Regions from separate parts of the Homo sapiens genome. Here all the other regions are linked to region 2. Evidence: promoter capture Hi-C in 16 types of primary human blood cells and fetal thymus (Javierre and others, 2016). All regions are on one chromosome and are shown on one strand. Each heading gives the region's core, a stretch centred on a gene start or on the middle of the fragment in contact. The rest is flanking DNA. Distances are from core to core; before and after follow the strand shown.

Region 1 (4,948 bases), core at 2,197-4,696, 5.3 Mb after region 2:
CTGCTTTCTCTTCCTTCATGGTATAAGTTTCATGAGGCTTTCCCAGCCATGCGGAACTGTGAGTCAATTAAATCTCCTTTGTGTATAAATCACCCAATCTCAGGTAATATCTTAAGAGCAGTGTGAGAACAGACTAATACACTGATATTCATGGCTACATTATTTATAACAGCCCAAAAGCAGAAACAACCCAAACGTCCATCAACTGAAGAATGGATAAACAGAAAGTGATATGTTTGTACAATGAAATATCATGCAATAATAGAAAGAAATGAAGTGGCCCGGGTGCAGTGGCTCAAGCCTGTAATCCCAACATTTTGGAAGGTTGAGGCGGGTGGATCACTTGAGGTCAGGAGTTCAAGACCAGCCTGGCCAACATGATGAAGCCCCAACTCTACTAAAAATACAAAAATTAGCTTGGCATGGTTGCAGGACCCTGTAATCTCAGCAACTCAGGAGGCTGAGGCAGGAGAATTGCTTGAACCTGGGAGGTGGAGGTTGCCGTGACTGGAAATCGCCCCACTGCACTCCAGCCTAAGAGCCAGAGCCAGAGGCCATCTGGAAAGGAAGGAAGGAAGGAAGGAAGGAAGGAAGGGAGGGAGGGAGGGAGGGAGGGAGGGAGGGAGGGAGGGAGAAAGAGAGAAAAGAACGAATTGATATGTGCTACAACATGGATGAACCTACTTCAGAAACATTATAGTGAATGAAAGAAGCTAGACATGAAAAACTACATACTGTATGATTACATTTATATGTGATATCCAGAATAGGCAAATCCATAGATAAAAAACGTTAATTAATGATTGGTGAGAGGATACAAATAGGAGGAAATTAGGAGTGGCTACTAATAGGTTTGCAGGTTTTTTGGTGGGAGGTAATGAAAATGTTCTGGAATTAGATAGCAGTGATGGTTGCACAATACTGTAAATATATATAAGAAATCACTCTATTGTACACTTCAAAATGGTAGATTTTTTTCATGTAAATTTGTCTCAATTTTTAAAATTGTCAGAAAAACCTATACAGGAGTAAGCCCTCATTTACTGGAAGTGCTGAAAAATAAAAAAGAACGTACGGCCAGCCAGTCAAGAGAACCAATATAGAGTGGTTTTCTAGAAGCCTGGGGAAGAGTTTTAAGAACAGTTAAAAATCACCCAAACAATTTCCCATGTGTTAATTCCATTCTCACCAGACATCCTTTTAATTATTGTTATTATTTAGTTTCTCAAATTTTCATCTTGATAGAAAATTTGCTGACCAGAGTCTGCAAACAGTCAACTGACCAGAGCCCGCTGGTCTTCTTGGCTGTATTTTTCACGAAAAAAAGAATAAGTTAGATTGAAATTTGGGTGTATAAGTGTTTTCTGGTCATCCTGCTGAGGCAGTTTGACCATTCCTCCTCGTAATTTTAGGTTGGATGTGGACACTCGTGACACTAGATATGACAAGAGAATTTGAGAGAAATTTTATTACCCTGGGGACTAGTGGGGGTAAGTGAGGGAGGGCTGGGTGCTGCAAACAGGTCTGGGCTGGTTTCAGAGGCAGAGGAAGTTGGATGGGCCTTTATAGCATCTAGGAAGTGGGGCTGGTGAAAATGCCGCACAGGCTGTAGATTTGCAAGTTTTAAATTTCTCAACTGCACCAATTTTTGTTGCCAGTTTTAAATTTCCCACCAATGCCAAAGAAGGAGGCAGGCTGGAGAATCACAAGTTTTAAATTTCCCACTACAGCCAAAAGCAGAGTCATGCGGCTGTAGATTTGCTAGTTTTAAATTTCCTGCTGGCATCAAAGGAAAAGGTGCCCGGACTTTCTTATCACCCTGACCGGAAGCAGGGACCAACTATGCATGCTCCAAGATTTTGGGACTTTTCACTGTTTTATTTTGATTATTCTCTGTCTTTTCCTGTAAAGCTTATTTTCAGGGTCAGAAGCAAATAGCTGTATAAATAAGAAAGAAAAAACTAGCTCAAATAAAAAAAATGGTAGGATTCAGTGACAGGATTTACGTGTGTGTTATGTAAGCCACACGATATTTTCAGTCTGGGCAACTCTTAAGAGATGAATTGGGCCAGGCGTGGTGGCTCACGCTTGTAATCCCAGCACTTTGGGAGGCCGAGGCAGGCAGATCACCTGAGGTGGGGAGTTCGAGACCAGCCTGACCAACATGGAGAAACCCCGTCTCTACTAAAAATACAAAATTAGTCGGGTGTGGTGGCGCATGCCTGTAATCCCAGCTACTCGGGAGGCTGAGGCAGGAGAGTCACTTGAACCCGGGAAGCGGAGGTTGCGGTGAGCCAAGATCACGCCATTGGACTCCTGCCTGGGCAACAAGAGCGAAACTCCGTCTCAAAAAAGAAAAAGAGAGATGAACCAGTACTGCTATAAACCTTGTGGAGAAATTTGGGAGAAGAAACTTTTACAGTTCAAAGCACAATGTCTAGAAAATGTTTCTGTAAGCAGTATTTTGGCAAGTGTTTTTCTTGTAAATGTATTTACAAGTTCCAGTGATTCTCCCGCCTCAGCCTCCCAAGTAGCTGGGATTACAGGCATGTGCCACCACACCCTGCTAATTTTGTATTTTTAGTAAAGATGGGGTTTCACTATGTTGGTCAGGCTGACTGGGGTTCAGAGAAGGAGGAGGAGAAAGGCGAGGAGGAAAGGGAAGTGGTCTCAAACTCCTCACCCCAGGTGATCCACCCACCTCAGCCTCCCAAAGTGCTGGAATTAGAAGTGTGAGCCACCGCGGCCAGCCCACGGACGGACGGCTGGTACTTACATGTGCACAAGTGCAGCTACTTTACTTACCGTCGAAGGCAGCGGAGGAAGTGTAATTGACTAGCGTGGATGCAGCTTTTCTAAGCAAACGCTCGATTTAACCTGGAGTTGTCATCCCACAAAATACATTGTACCTGACTACAGAGAAACATGAATTCTGGGTCTTCCTTGTGTGTAAGAGTAAATGTATTTTTCCTTAGCATTTTTTGTACCTACTATAGGCATCCATATGGCAATTAGAAGTAACAGAGAGACAAGCAAAACCATATGTTTAAAACAAAAGGTAAAAATAACTAGTATTTTGAGACGTGTTTCAAGTACAGTATTTCCAGAAAACAATATATTTATATTTTTAACTCGTGTCTTTAGCCCTCACACACAAGGAAGACCCAGAATTCATGTTTCTCTGTAGTCAGGTACAATGTATTTTTTGGGATGACAACTCCAGGTTAAATCGAGCGTTTGCTTAGAAAAGCTGCATCCACGCTAGTCAATTACACTTCCTCCGCTGCCTTCGACGGTAAGTAAAGTAGCTGCACATGTGCACATGTAAGTACCAGCCGTCCGTCCGTGGGCGGTTAAAAGGCCCCGGATGTTCAGGGGGTGGAGTCGGCGTCTACCCATGAGGCAGCGCGTGCAGTTATATACTTCTGCCCCCGGCTGAGACGCCGGTTCCGCGCTGGAAGTCTCCGGGGGAGTCGCTGTTGCTGAGGCTGTCGCCTGAGGTTTTTCGCGCTCCTCCCTTTCCTCCTCCTCTTTCTCCTCCTCCTTATCCGAACCCCAGTCAGACCGATCTGCTCTGCTCTCGGTAAGCGGCCCCCGCCCCCGCCTGTGCCGCGCGGAAGGAGGCAGCAGCTCTCCCGCGCGGCCGAGGCAGCCTTCCCCAGAGGGCGGTTCTGAGGGCGGCTGGCTGAGGGTCTCTATGCCGGTGCGGATCGACGGGGGTGCGGGGGAGGGGACAGGCTTGGCGGCGTGGTAGCTGGTGGGCCACCATCTTGCGCCGGGCCCTGAAGGGGGAGGGTTTTCTGGAGGTAGAGCCTGGCGGCCCGCGGCGGGCAGTGGTTTCGCGGGCCGCGGCAGCTGCGGCAGCCTTCTCACCTCCTGAGTCCTGTCGGTCTGTTTCCAACCCGGTTTGGGCTTTTCATTCTGGAGGCAACTCCCTTTCGTCTTTTGTACGGTTGATACTGATGTTTGACGGAGACCCGCCCACCCTCAAGTCTCTTCAATCAAACGAAAAGAGACTTGAGGGGATTCCGAACTTTCAGGCATCAGAGACCCTGTGACCCCTTCTTTCTGCGCAGGTTCCCCCCACACAGGACCGGTCATTCCATGCCCACAACCTTGTTCTGGCCAAAGGGACTTCCCTTCTCTGTCACAGAAATCGTGCTCTATTCCGTTATTGTCTAGAGGATAAGAGCCCTGAGGAGAAACGTGGAGTTAAATACACTATATTCTAACTAGGAGGTTTGCAGGTTTTACTTAAAGAGATGGAAAAAATTATGCTGAGGTATACTCCTGCTCTAGAGATGGAGGGAGTTCCTTTCAACTTCTCTCAGGTTTTAATGCTTTTTTAAGGAGAAATTCGAGAGGAAATTGTCAAGTGAACCAGCTTCTGCAAGCACGGGAGACCTTCATCCAGGGGATTCTCTTTGTTTGGAAAGATTTGTTAGTTTTGTGGAGTTTTTTAAATCTGCGACCTTAAATTTTTTTTACTATTGTTTTCAGGTTTGGACTATGAGTTGTAATGTCTTTTAGTGCCCCTAAACATAAAATAGAAACCTAGAAGTAGAGTTTTAAACTGCAAAAGTCTCCTCTTAGTATTTGTGAGGTGTCCTGGTTTGGGGGTTACTGTGCAAACTTAATCTCCTTACGCAGAAACTTCACTGAGCCTACAAAGGCACTGATTTGCTTGTAAAATTAGGGCTGTGTACCTTTGATGTTTCTACAGCAGTACAGATTCCATTATAATCGTATCTTGCATTTGTATATTTCATTGGTAGCACCCCTTTTGAGATGGGCTGTAGGGTGTCGTTAGAACTGTTTGAAGATGAGGAAACAGCCTCAAGGACAGAACTTTACCGAGGTCATGTGCCTAGGAAGTGATGGAACCAATTCTTAAACCTAGGCTTTCTGACCCTCATCCAATGTTCAATTTGGTATATTATGTCTCACT
Region 2 (4,932 bases), core at 22-2,521:
GGGACCAGGAGGAAGAGGGGGAGAAGGAGGAGATGCAGCGAAGAGCCCAAGGAGGGGGAGGAAGACCGGGGGAGGAAGGAGGGGCCAGAGGAGGAGCCCAGGCTCCGGGAAAGCCCGCGCGCCCGGCCGGCAGGACCTCGGGGCGGAGTCGCAGGCTCCGTCCGGCCCCCCGCGCGGCGACCCTCGCGCGGTGCGCCTCGAAGGGGCGGGCCCGCCTCGCAGCCTCCCTCCGGGTTTCGGGCCCTCCTTCCCCGCTCCTCCCTCCCCTCCCTCCTTTCCATCTCAGCAGCGCCCTCAGTCTCCCTCTCGCAGGCTCATACAAAAGCAAAATGTCCGCCATGTTCCGAGGCGGCTGCGGTTGTCGCGCCACGAGCTCGGCCCTCCTGCGGTTTCTCCCCGGGGCTGCTCCTCCCCGGTCCCCTCTCCCCGACCCCAGGCGCGACAGCTACTCCGAAGCCGCCGACGGCACCACTCCGCCCGCCCTCTGCGCACCCCCTCGCCGCCCGCCCCGCCGGGCGACGCAGGACCGCCTTAGGCGGGGGCAGGGGGGTAAGCAGCCCCCGCCGACTTGCTCCCGCTTCCCGCCTGTCCCCCCACCCGTAGCCCCTTTACCTTGATGCAGTACGGGGGTTCGTCGTAGGTGACCAGCATGTACCTGTCTCCACGGCTGGCCGGGTCCCGGGCGCGCAGCTGCGGGGCAAGGGATGACGGAGGGGGTCGCGTAGGAAAGGAGGGGGGAGGGCGATACAAACGTTACAGAAGCACCTCAATCCACACCCTGAAATCCCTCGGGAGCTCTCCCCATCTCTCCCCTCCCCTCCCTTTACCTTCAAGAATAACTCCACAGCGCCTTTGGCAATGTCCAAATAAGAGGTGCCCAGGTCAGTGCGCTGGTTCATAGAGGCGGACGTGTCTATGAGGAACAGCAGGATGGGCATCTTCCCCCGCACTCCTGCCTCCGCTCCCCACTCTCCCGGCCCTCTTGCCCTCACTGCCGCGTACGGCCACCTGAACCCTCAACTCTCGCAGAGCCGGGGAGCAAGGAGCAAGAGGAAGAGGGGGAGACGGGACGGGACGGGACGGATGGGACCGCTCCTGGCCTCCTCTTTCTGCAGCCCCACCTCCTCTCCCTCCAAGGGAACTTGAAAGTGTGAGCGTGTGTAGCCCTCGGGGCCCTCCCCCTTCCTCTCTTCTGCTGCCACCACTACTGCCGCTGCCAGGACTACTGCCTAAGCATCCGTCCGCGCTCACTAGAGCGCTCGCCCCAGACTGAGCGCCGTCTCTGTTCACTGACAACTTCTGTCTGCTCACCTACCATCGGCACCATGTGACCAGAACCCATGCCATTGGCTGCCAATTATGTGGTATTTGCATATTCATTAGATGACAGGACTAGGGGAGGGACTTGGGCGAACCCTGGGAGTTGAAGTTTGAACCCAGGCAGAGGGTAAGGGGAAGTGTTACGGACCCTCGCTAGGATTCTCCTTTAAAGGACTTGGAAGCAGTTCGAATGATTAGTTCGGGTGGTTTAAATGGATTTTTCTGTCTCTCTTCAAAGATGGTGATTCGAAAAGAAGAGTGAATTTGAGCAACAGTTGTACAGAAGTACAGAAGCAGATGCTTGGACAGTTTGCACAGAAAATTCTTCGCTAACTGCAATCGATCAATCCTGCCAGTGGCGAAGACGAAAATATTTCAGAAGCAGCAAACTTCTTTCCTGGCAGGACGTACTCACATTCCTTTAGATCCCTCCCCCGTCTTGATCAGTATTTGTGAGTTGGTTGCTGGCCTTGCATTCCACATATATCTACTTAGAAAGGAAACTAAAGCTTAAACACAGTTACAGTTACCTAAACTGGCCTTTTGTATGCACAAGCTTCTTCAGTTTCACTAAGCTCTTTGAAACATTGGCCTGCCTGTGATAATTCCACCACTGTTCCCTCTGCGCAGCCTTTACACATGGAGGTTTGCAAACCTAGATTGTGATTCAACTCACATATTTATTTATTTATTTATTTTTATAAATAAATAAAGAGGATCTCGCTTGATCGCCCAGGCTGGAGTGCAGTGGCCCCATCATAGCTGCCTGCAGCGTCCAGCTCCTGGGCTTAAGCGATCCTCCCATCTCAGCCTCTCAAGTAGCTGGGACCACAGGGGCAGGCTCTCAACTCACATTTATTGAGTGCCTATGAAGAGCCAGGCACCCACGGTAGCCTTGTTTAATCTTTGAATTAATTATGGCAGATGGCATTGTATTCAATTTTCAGTAGAGGAAAATGCAGCTCCCTGAGGTTAGGGTAACAATTACGGATACTCTCAGGTCTGGCTCTGTGAAGAGACTCAGTAAGTGGCCAACCACACTTGATTGACTACTTCATATGACACAATTTTAAAAATTGGACTTGTGTATTCCTGGCAATTACTATTGACAATGTGGAATCCAGGACTTCAATGAGTTTGCAGTTTCATTGAGGAGAGATGATGACATATACATACATAATATTTTATATATTTTGGCCAGGCGCAGTGGCTCATGCCTGTAATTCCAGCACTTTGGGAGGCCGAGGTGGGTGGATCATTTGAGGGCAGGAGTTTGAGACCAGCCTGGCCAACATGGTGAAACCCCCGTCTCTACTAAAAATACAAAAATTAGCCGGGCATGGGAGCAGGCGCCTGTAGTCCCAGCTACTTGGGAGGCTGAGGCAGGAGAATCACTTCAACCCAGGAGACGGAGGTTGCAGTGAACTGAGATCACACCACTGCACTCCAGCCTGGGCAACAGAATGAGATAACATCTCAAAAAAGTATTTTATATATTTTATATACACTCTCTCTCTCTCTCTCTCTCTCTATATATATATGTATGTTCTGTGTATATGTTTCATATATTATATATGCACATTCAATAACATTCTCAGAGAAATACGATTTTAAAAGAAGTCATATGGCAGTATATGAATCAGGGACAAACAAGGATGCAAGTTAAAAAGTGCTATGGAAACAATGGTCCAGTCTAGAAATTCATAGGATTTCACGAACAAGGCACAAAAAGGGAAGAGAGGGAATCTGGGTTGGAAGGAATGATATGAACAAAAACTCAGCCAAAGATAGTACTATGTATGGTGCATTTCAGGCCATTCTGGTGGAAAGTAGGGAATTAATGAAGAAATAAGGATGAAAAAGATACTAGAAGCCCCCATTTCCATTCCGATACAAATGTCAGTGTAGAAGGGCAATGCCTACATGGGCTAGGGTACAAAAAATATAGGACTGTTGGGGGCAGTGTGTTAGTTTTCTACTGCTGTTTAACAAATTATTACAAATTTAGTGGCTTAAAACAACACAAGCATTTACTATCTCACAGTTTCCATGAGTCAGAGGTCTAAGTTTACCTGGGTTCTCTACTTAGTCTCATAAGTCTGCAGTCAACGTGTCAGCCAGGCTGTTTTCATCTGGAGGTTCACCTGGGAAAGAACTGGCTTCCAGGCTCATTCAGATTTCTGGCAGAATTCATTTCCTTGGGGCTGTTGCTGGTGACCAGAGGCCACCTTCAGGTCCACCTTCTGTTGCAGGTCTCTGCCATATGGCTTTCTCCATTGGCTGTTCACAACATAGCTGCTACTTCAGGGCCAGCAGAGAAATCTCTTACTCCAAGATGGAGCCTTATGTAATGTAGATAATCTCAACTAGAAGCAAGTCACAGGTCCCACCCACACTCAAGGAAAGAATATTATACAGGATGTAACACCAAGGATTGGAGATCATGGGGCCAGCTAAGAATTGTGCCTAATATTAGATAGGGATGGGATTATTAAGATGGGGATGTGATTATTTCCTGGAAACAAACTTTGCCTAGTTCACAGTTTTTATGAGATGGAATCTTGCTCTGTCGCCCAGACTGCAGTACAGTGGCATGATCTCGGCTCACTGCAACCTCTGCCTCCCAGCTTAAAGCGATTCTCCTGCCTCAGCCTCCTGAGTAGCTGGTACTAGAGGCATGTGCTACCATGCTCAGCTAATTTTTATATTTTGAGTAGAGATGGAGTTTCACCATGTTGGCCAGGCTGGTCTCAAACTCCTGACTTCAAGCGATCCACCCACCTCGGCCTCCCAAATTGCTGGGTTTACAGGTGTGAGCCACCGTGCCCTGCCTGTTAAAGTCAATTTTGAGTAATACTGTACAAACTTTCAGCCCACCGAATAAATGCATTGGGTTGACTTGTTGCTTAGACTAGCCTTTGGTTGAAGAATTACAAGATTTCCTATGAGGAGTTTATATTTTATTTTGTGAATATCTATATGTGTATGTGTGTATGAGAGAGGAGAATAAGGACTGCTGAGCCATGATATACCCCAGTTTACAAATGGTATTTTAAGATGACATTAAAATATCTCCTTTATACTTTCCTCCCAACTTTTCAATGAGTGTGCCTTACTTTTATAATCAGAAAAGGGGCTATGTTAAAAATTACATTAAAAGAATTGTAAAAAGTTCTTCCAACTTGAATATTACTGAGACAATTTTCAAAAACGGCTTACCAGCATTAGTGAAACACAAATAGTCTCAGTCACACAATGCTCCTGTGGTCAAGGATATGCATGGTGCCACAGAGTGACCTTCTAGGGACAAGATATTCTCCCCATGCAGGTGAATGCCTTTTAATTTTTTTTTTTTTCTAACAAGACATGTTATTGATTTTTTCTGGCATAAATGCAAATGGAATTGAAATGATGTCAACATAGAATTGAAAAATATTTGTGTCTCAGTATAAACTACAAAAATGGCAATATACAAAAAAAAAACAAAAAACAAAAACAAAAATGATGTAACGGATTTATGGGCTTATTCAGATTAAACCAATCCCCAAGCTGTCACCAAGAACCTTCTCTTCATCACTTCCTGGAGGAAAGTAAGTTCTGTATTATGCTAGA
Region 3 (4,426 bases), core at 1,857-4,356, 5.3 Mb after region 2:
ATGCATGTAAAGTGCCTAGCCTGGGCTCTTTGCTTATTCAATACATAGTTGTTATTATTATTATTATTATTGCCTACTCATTGGAGGCTTTTCTTGATGTTCATACAATTGAGTTCATCAGGACTCAATTGTAAATGCTTTGATGGGGTGAGGGTGGGGAACATAATGATTGGAGACAGCAAATGGGGCTTCAATACCCTAGGGATGGCCTTGATAATTAATTACAGTGTGGCTCTAACTACACCAAATCAGTTGTCCCTAGCAGGGGTTCATGTATGTGCTACCCCGGGACACAGGCAGGCAGCCCAGAAGAGGCCACACCCTTGCTCTTAGACTGAGAAGAGCTGGCTGAGACCTCTCTACCACTCTCCTCCAAGGGCTGGTATGTTACAGCCCAAAAGCCTTCTATTGCTGGCCATGGTCTAGGCCAGACCTCGGACTGTCACACTGGACTTTTCTCTCTCTCGCAAAGGACGAAGCCCTTGGCAGTCATCTCCAAGCATGGCTTTGGCATGTATTCCTTGAACAACTTCAGGCTAGCCAGAGTGCGAGGCCAAATCTTCTCTTATCTAGATCACGTGCTAGCCGCCAGGCTCTGCCATCTTCCCACAGACATGCTGGTCTCTCGCCTGCCAGCATGGTCCTGAGATTGCAGCAGCTTTACAAGAAGCAGGGTCACCATCTCCCCACTCCCACACGCCACTCTGAGCTCCTTTGGAATCTGCCCTCAGAGGACTCCTCCATGAGCAGTGTCACAAGGCTTTGTCCCCTTGAAAATATCATCTTCCCCAAAAAAGCCTGTATTAAGCACTTATCTGCACGTGGTGTTGTGCTGAGCTCTGTTTCTAGTGAGTCACACTGTCACAGGCTCTGCCCTCTGGGAAAAAGTCTGGAATCTTTGCCAGAGACTGTAAAGTCCAGTTTGGCTAAGTACTGGGGTGTTAGAAGAGAAGGAATAGTTTAAAAATTCCTTCAAGGCCACTGGGTGGTGACTCTTCCACTCGTGTTCATCTGTCATCCCTCACTTTCTAGCTTCTTCCTCCCTCCTTCTTTAGATTCCCAAACACTTCATTTTTTCCATCTAAATTTCAGATGGACTTATTTCCCACCTTTTAAATCCAGGGAACTCTTTGGCTCACTGTAGCACTTGATTTTAAGCAAATGGGAGCATTAGGTTTTTGAGGTTTAAGAGCCCATCTGTAAAGATATTTCTACTTTGGATTACAAAGTCATGTTTTAGAAATTCTAGAATCTTATAGCCTTACATTAAAGAAGCTAGACACACTAGAGGAAGTCTTAACCAAGCAAATGTCAACAGCCCCAGGAAAGGACAGAGACAGATACCGCCTTTGACTTTAAAAGGAAATGTAGCACTTCCCTTCCAAAATGCAAGGGGCAAAAAAGATCACGATTTCAAAATAATGTTCTATCTTCCTACCCTGGGGCTCTCCCTTATCAGTACTGAGCTGTCCATCTTCCTGACATCTAGTGAGTTGGCCTAGTTTCTGAAGCCATTTTTAGAACACGTTCATTTTAATAATCAAGGAGTCAGGAGTCTCGCACAGTTTCAAGTGTTTCATCAGTTTCATCAGTTACTCAGCCCTTCTCTCCACGTCACTCAGAGGAGGGGCCTTGTGGTCACTTTGGCAGTTTGACCAGCAAGAAGGAGGCTTACTGTCACCCCTGACTCTGTCTAAGGTCCAACCATACGCTCAAGGAAAGGCCAGCTGTGAGCCTAGAGGAGTTGTCTTCAGTGATCCCAGTGCCTTTATAGAGGCCCCCCTCTGCTCCCCATGACACAAGAAGTTGCCCTTGTTATGTCCTCCCTCCCGCCATCCCCTGCACATTGACATATTCCTGTCATATCAGGTTTCTACCTTTTCTGAATTAAAGGTGAGCACAAATGGTCAGACAAGAATATTTGCACTTAGCCTATTACATAAACTCATGGAGGGGGAGGATTGAACATTCCCCTGGCCCTCGGTTAAGTCACTGCATTTTTACAAAGACCTGAAGACAATACCAACAGAATGAATAAGGAGCAGTTCATGTATTAGATGCCCCAGACAAGTAAAGAAGATATCATTCCAGGGGGGCTGTTACAAAAAAACAAGTTTTGTCTATTACGAAGGGCTGGACCCTGCCTCAATTTCTTTAAAAGGGCTCATGGCTTTCTGCCAGAACCACCCCACTCCACCGCCATCTCAACTCAGCCCTAATTTTTTAACTATAAACTGCAATTTAAAATAAAGCAGCTTTTTCATTCTCCATGGATTTCCATCATTTCCTTCCCTCTAACGCCTTGAGGCTTAGCCAAAGTGGGGTTTTGCAGCCTATCGGCACCCAAGCAGTAGAAGAGACATCAGGATGTGTAAAGTGCTTTGGGATCCATCCCAGAGACTAGGACCCACAGATGCCTCCTGCCTCCCTCTGCCCACAGGTGCCGCTGCTCGGGGTAGGGGTCATGGATGGGAATCCAACATGCTTTTCCTGGCAGGACCTGTCAGGCAGGGGCTAAGGGTAAGAATGCAACCCCATTCTCAACCGCCCTAAAAAACTGAGTGAAGTGGGGACGGGGCCCCGCTGAGAGAGGTGAAAAGGGGTGAGGAGGAGCCGAGGGTCCTCGGCTCAGCAAGAGGCGAAACCGCCACGCGCTGGACGCTGGACGACGACAACCGCTAGAGCTATGCCTCGGGCGAGGTCCCCTCCCGGGTCCCACCCTTCCTGGACCTGACCCCCTGGATCACCTTGATCTTCTCGCCCTCGATTTCCACGGTCTTCTCCCTGAAGTCCACGCCGATGGTGGCTTCAGTCTTGTCTGGGAAGGTACCCCCGCAGAAGCGGAAGGTCAGGCAGGTCTTGCCCACGTTGGAGTCCCCAATCACGATTATTTTGAAGATGCGAATCTGCACGTACTGGTCCAGCGACGAGTCGAGCTCCAGGGACGCCAGGCCAGCGGCCGAGGCGGGCTGCAGGCTCCCATGGCCCAGGATGGGCTGCGCCATCTCCCCCGGACCGAACCGGGGCCCCAACCCCCCTTGAGGGCTCCACACAAAGAGAACGTCCACGTTCGTGCGCTCGAGGCGAGCGAGCTCTGTGCGTGTGTGTGTGCGCGCGTGTGTGTGTGTCCGCCCGTGTGTGCGTGCGCCGGCACCGTGTGCGCGCGCGCGCGTGAAGGGGGTGCCTCTCACTCCGGGCCCCCCTCCTCCTCCTCCAGCGCACCCTCCTTGCAGCTCGGAGGCACCAACACAAAAGCCAGGGAGAGGAGGAGAGAGGGAGGAGAGTGGACGAGCCGCGAGCCTTCTGCCTGTGTGCGCCCTCGGACCGGATGCTCTGGCGAAGGACCCTACCGCGCTGCTCCAGCCGCCGCCGCGCCTCGGCCCACACCCTCCCCTGCCTGCATTCCCGGGACGGACCCGAGGGAAGAAGCCTCAGGAGGAAAGAGACGGGGTGGGGACAGCGGCACACGCCACCCCGGGATAGACTTCTTTCTCCTTGCCCCCGTTTATGTTATAGGTTTCGGGCTCCCCACCCCCACTGGCTCGAGCGCACGGGGTCAGCGGGCAGGGAGCACAGCTGGGGAGGACAAAGAGCTGCACCTTAAGACATCACTGGATCACTTCGGCCTCCCTGGAGCAACGCAACTCTGCGGGGATGGGGTGGGGGCGGAGGCACCTCTTTCACCTCGGGAGCAGCGGGCAGCTGAGCCGCGCCTTCCCGGTCCCCGCTACCCCGTCCCCTCTACCCCCACCCTCTACCCGACCCGCGCCTTGGGATAAAGGGATGCTCTGTCTTAATGAGTGAGCAGGTGCACTCGCGGGCCCCAGGCAGCCTGGGAGGCCGCTGCCAAGACACGCAGTGGGTTGTCCGGGGCCTGTACAGCTGAGAGGAGGGAGCCAGCGGGCACGCGTGTGCGTGTGTAGGGGGTGTAACTGTTTCTGTTACAGACTTGCCAGATGTAGGGGGGCGCGTACCAGGCGCCAACATCCCCTTATCACACCACGCGCACCCATCCTCTGAATGTTCAGGAGAGCGGCTCCTATTGGCTGCCGCAGTCGGTTGTGTTTGGCTGGCCAATGGGGAAGGCCCGCCGCGGGAGAGGGCCACACAGAGGCTAGGAGAAGGGGGGGAAGCTAGTGGTGGCAGTTCCAGCAAAAGGGGACTTTGTTTACGGGGCTAGCCATTACTGGCCCAGGTGGAGGATCTTGGGACAATGGCATAAGCTCCACAGTGCCTTCCATTCCCAAGCCCTCCATATAACCATAAGTCCCTCCAGAACGCTGGAGTTTCAGAGGGAGTTGGGAATCCCTAGGAGGGTTCACCTCCCCCTGCAGCTGAATGTAGAACAAAGTGGTTGGGTCTAATTTGCCAGAAGCCTAGATTATGCTTGGAAGATGATAAATGAACACAACCTCCTTACAGTATT

Evidence for each region. The method cuts DNA at HindIII sites, captures the fragments that hold promoters and counts their contacts. A CHiCAGO score of 5 or more calls a contact.
Region 1: a contact is called between the fragment with the promoter of ZNF280C here and the fragment with the promoter of INTS6L in region 2, in 1 of 17 cell types (naive CD4 T cells). The highest score is 5.3, in naive CD4 T cells.
Region 3: the fragment with the promoter of RAB33A here is called in contact with the fragment with the promoter of INTS6L in region 2 in 1 of 17 cell types (M0 macrophages); the score reaches 10.1 in M0 macrophages.

Annotation. Positions count from the first base shown.
Region 1 is chrX:130,267,397-130,272,344 of GRCh38, reverse strand. ZNF280C (zinc finger protein 280C) reads left to right here and starts at 3,446. Exons shown (of 19, transcript NM_017666.5): 1 at 3,446-3,583. RefSeq lists a silencer at 3,666-3,745. The HindIII fragment of the contact is 6,334 bases long and covers 1,914-4,948 here.
Region 2 is chrX:135,516,999-135,521,930 of GRCh38, reverse strand. INTS6L (integrator complex subunit 6 like) reads right to left here and starts at 1,271. Exons shown (of 18, transcript NM_001351601.3): 1 at 828-1,271; 2 at 613-690. The coding sequence starts at 938. INTS6L-AS1 (INTS6L antisense RNA 1) reads left to right here and starts at 1,257. Exons shown (of 2, transcript NR_046740.1): 1 at 1,257-1,364; 2 at 1,559-1,848. RefSeq lists silencers at 168-367, 428-697 and enhancers at 948-1,007, 1,038-1,117. The HindIII fragment of the contact is 2,771 bases long and covers 1-1,831 here.
Region 3 is chrX:130,170,642-130,175,067 of GRCh38, reverse strand. RAB33A (RAB33A, member RAS oncogene family) reads right to left here and starts at 3,106. Exons shown (of 2, transcript NM_004794.3): 1 at 2,748-3,106. The coding sequence starts at 3,005. RefSeq lists enhancers at 2,569-3,523, 4,333-4,382 and silencers at 3,643-3,722, 3,893-3,952. The HindIII fragment of the contact is 5,739 bases long and covers 1-4,426 here.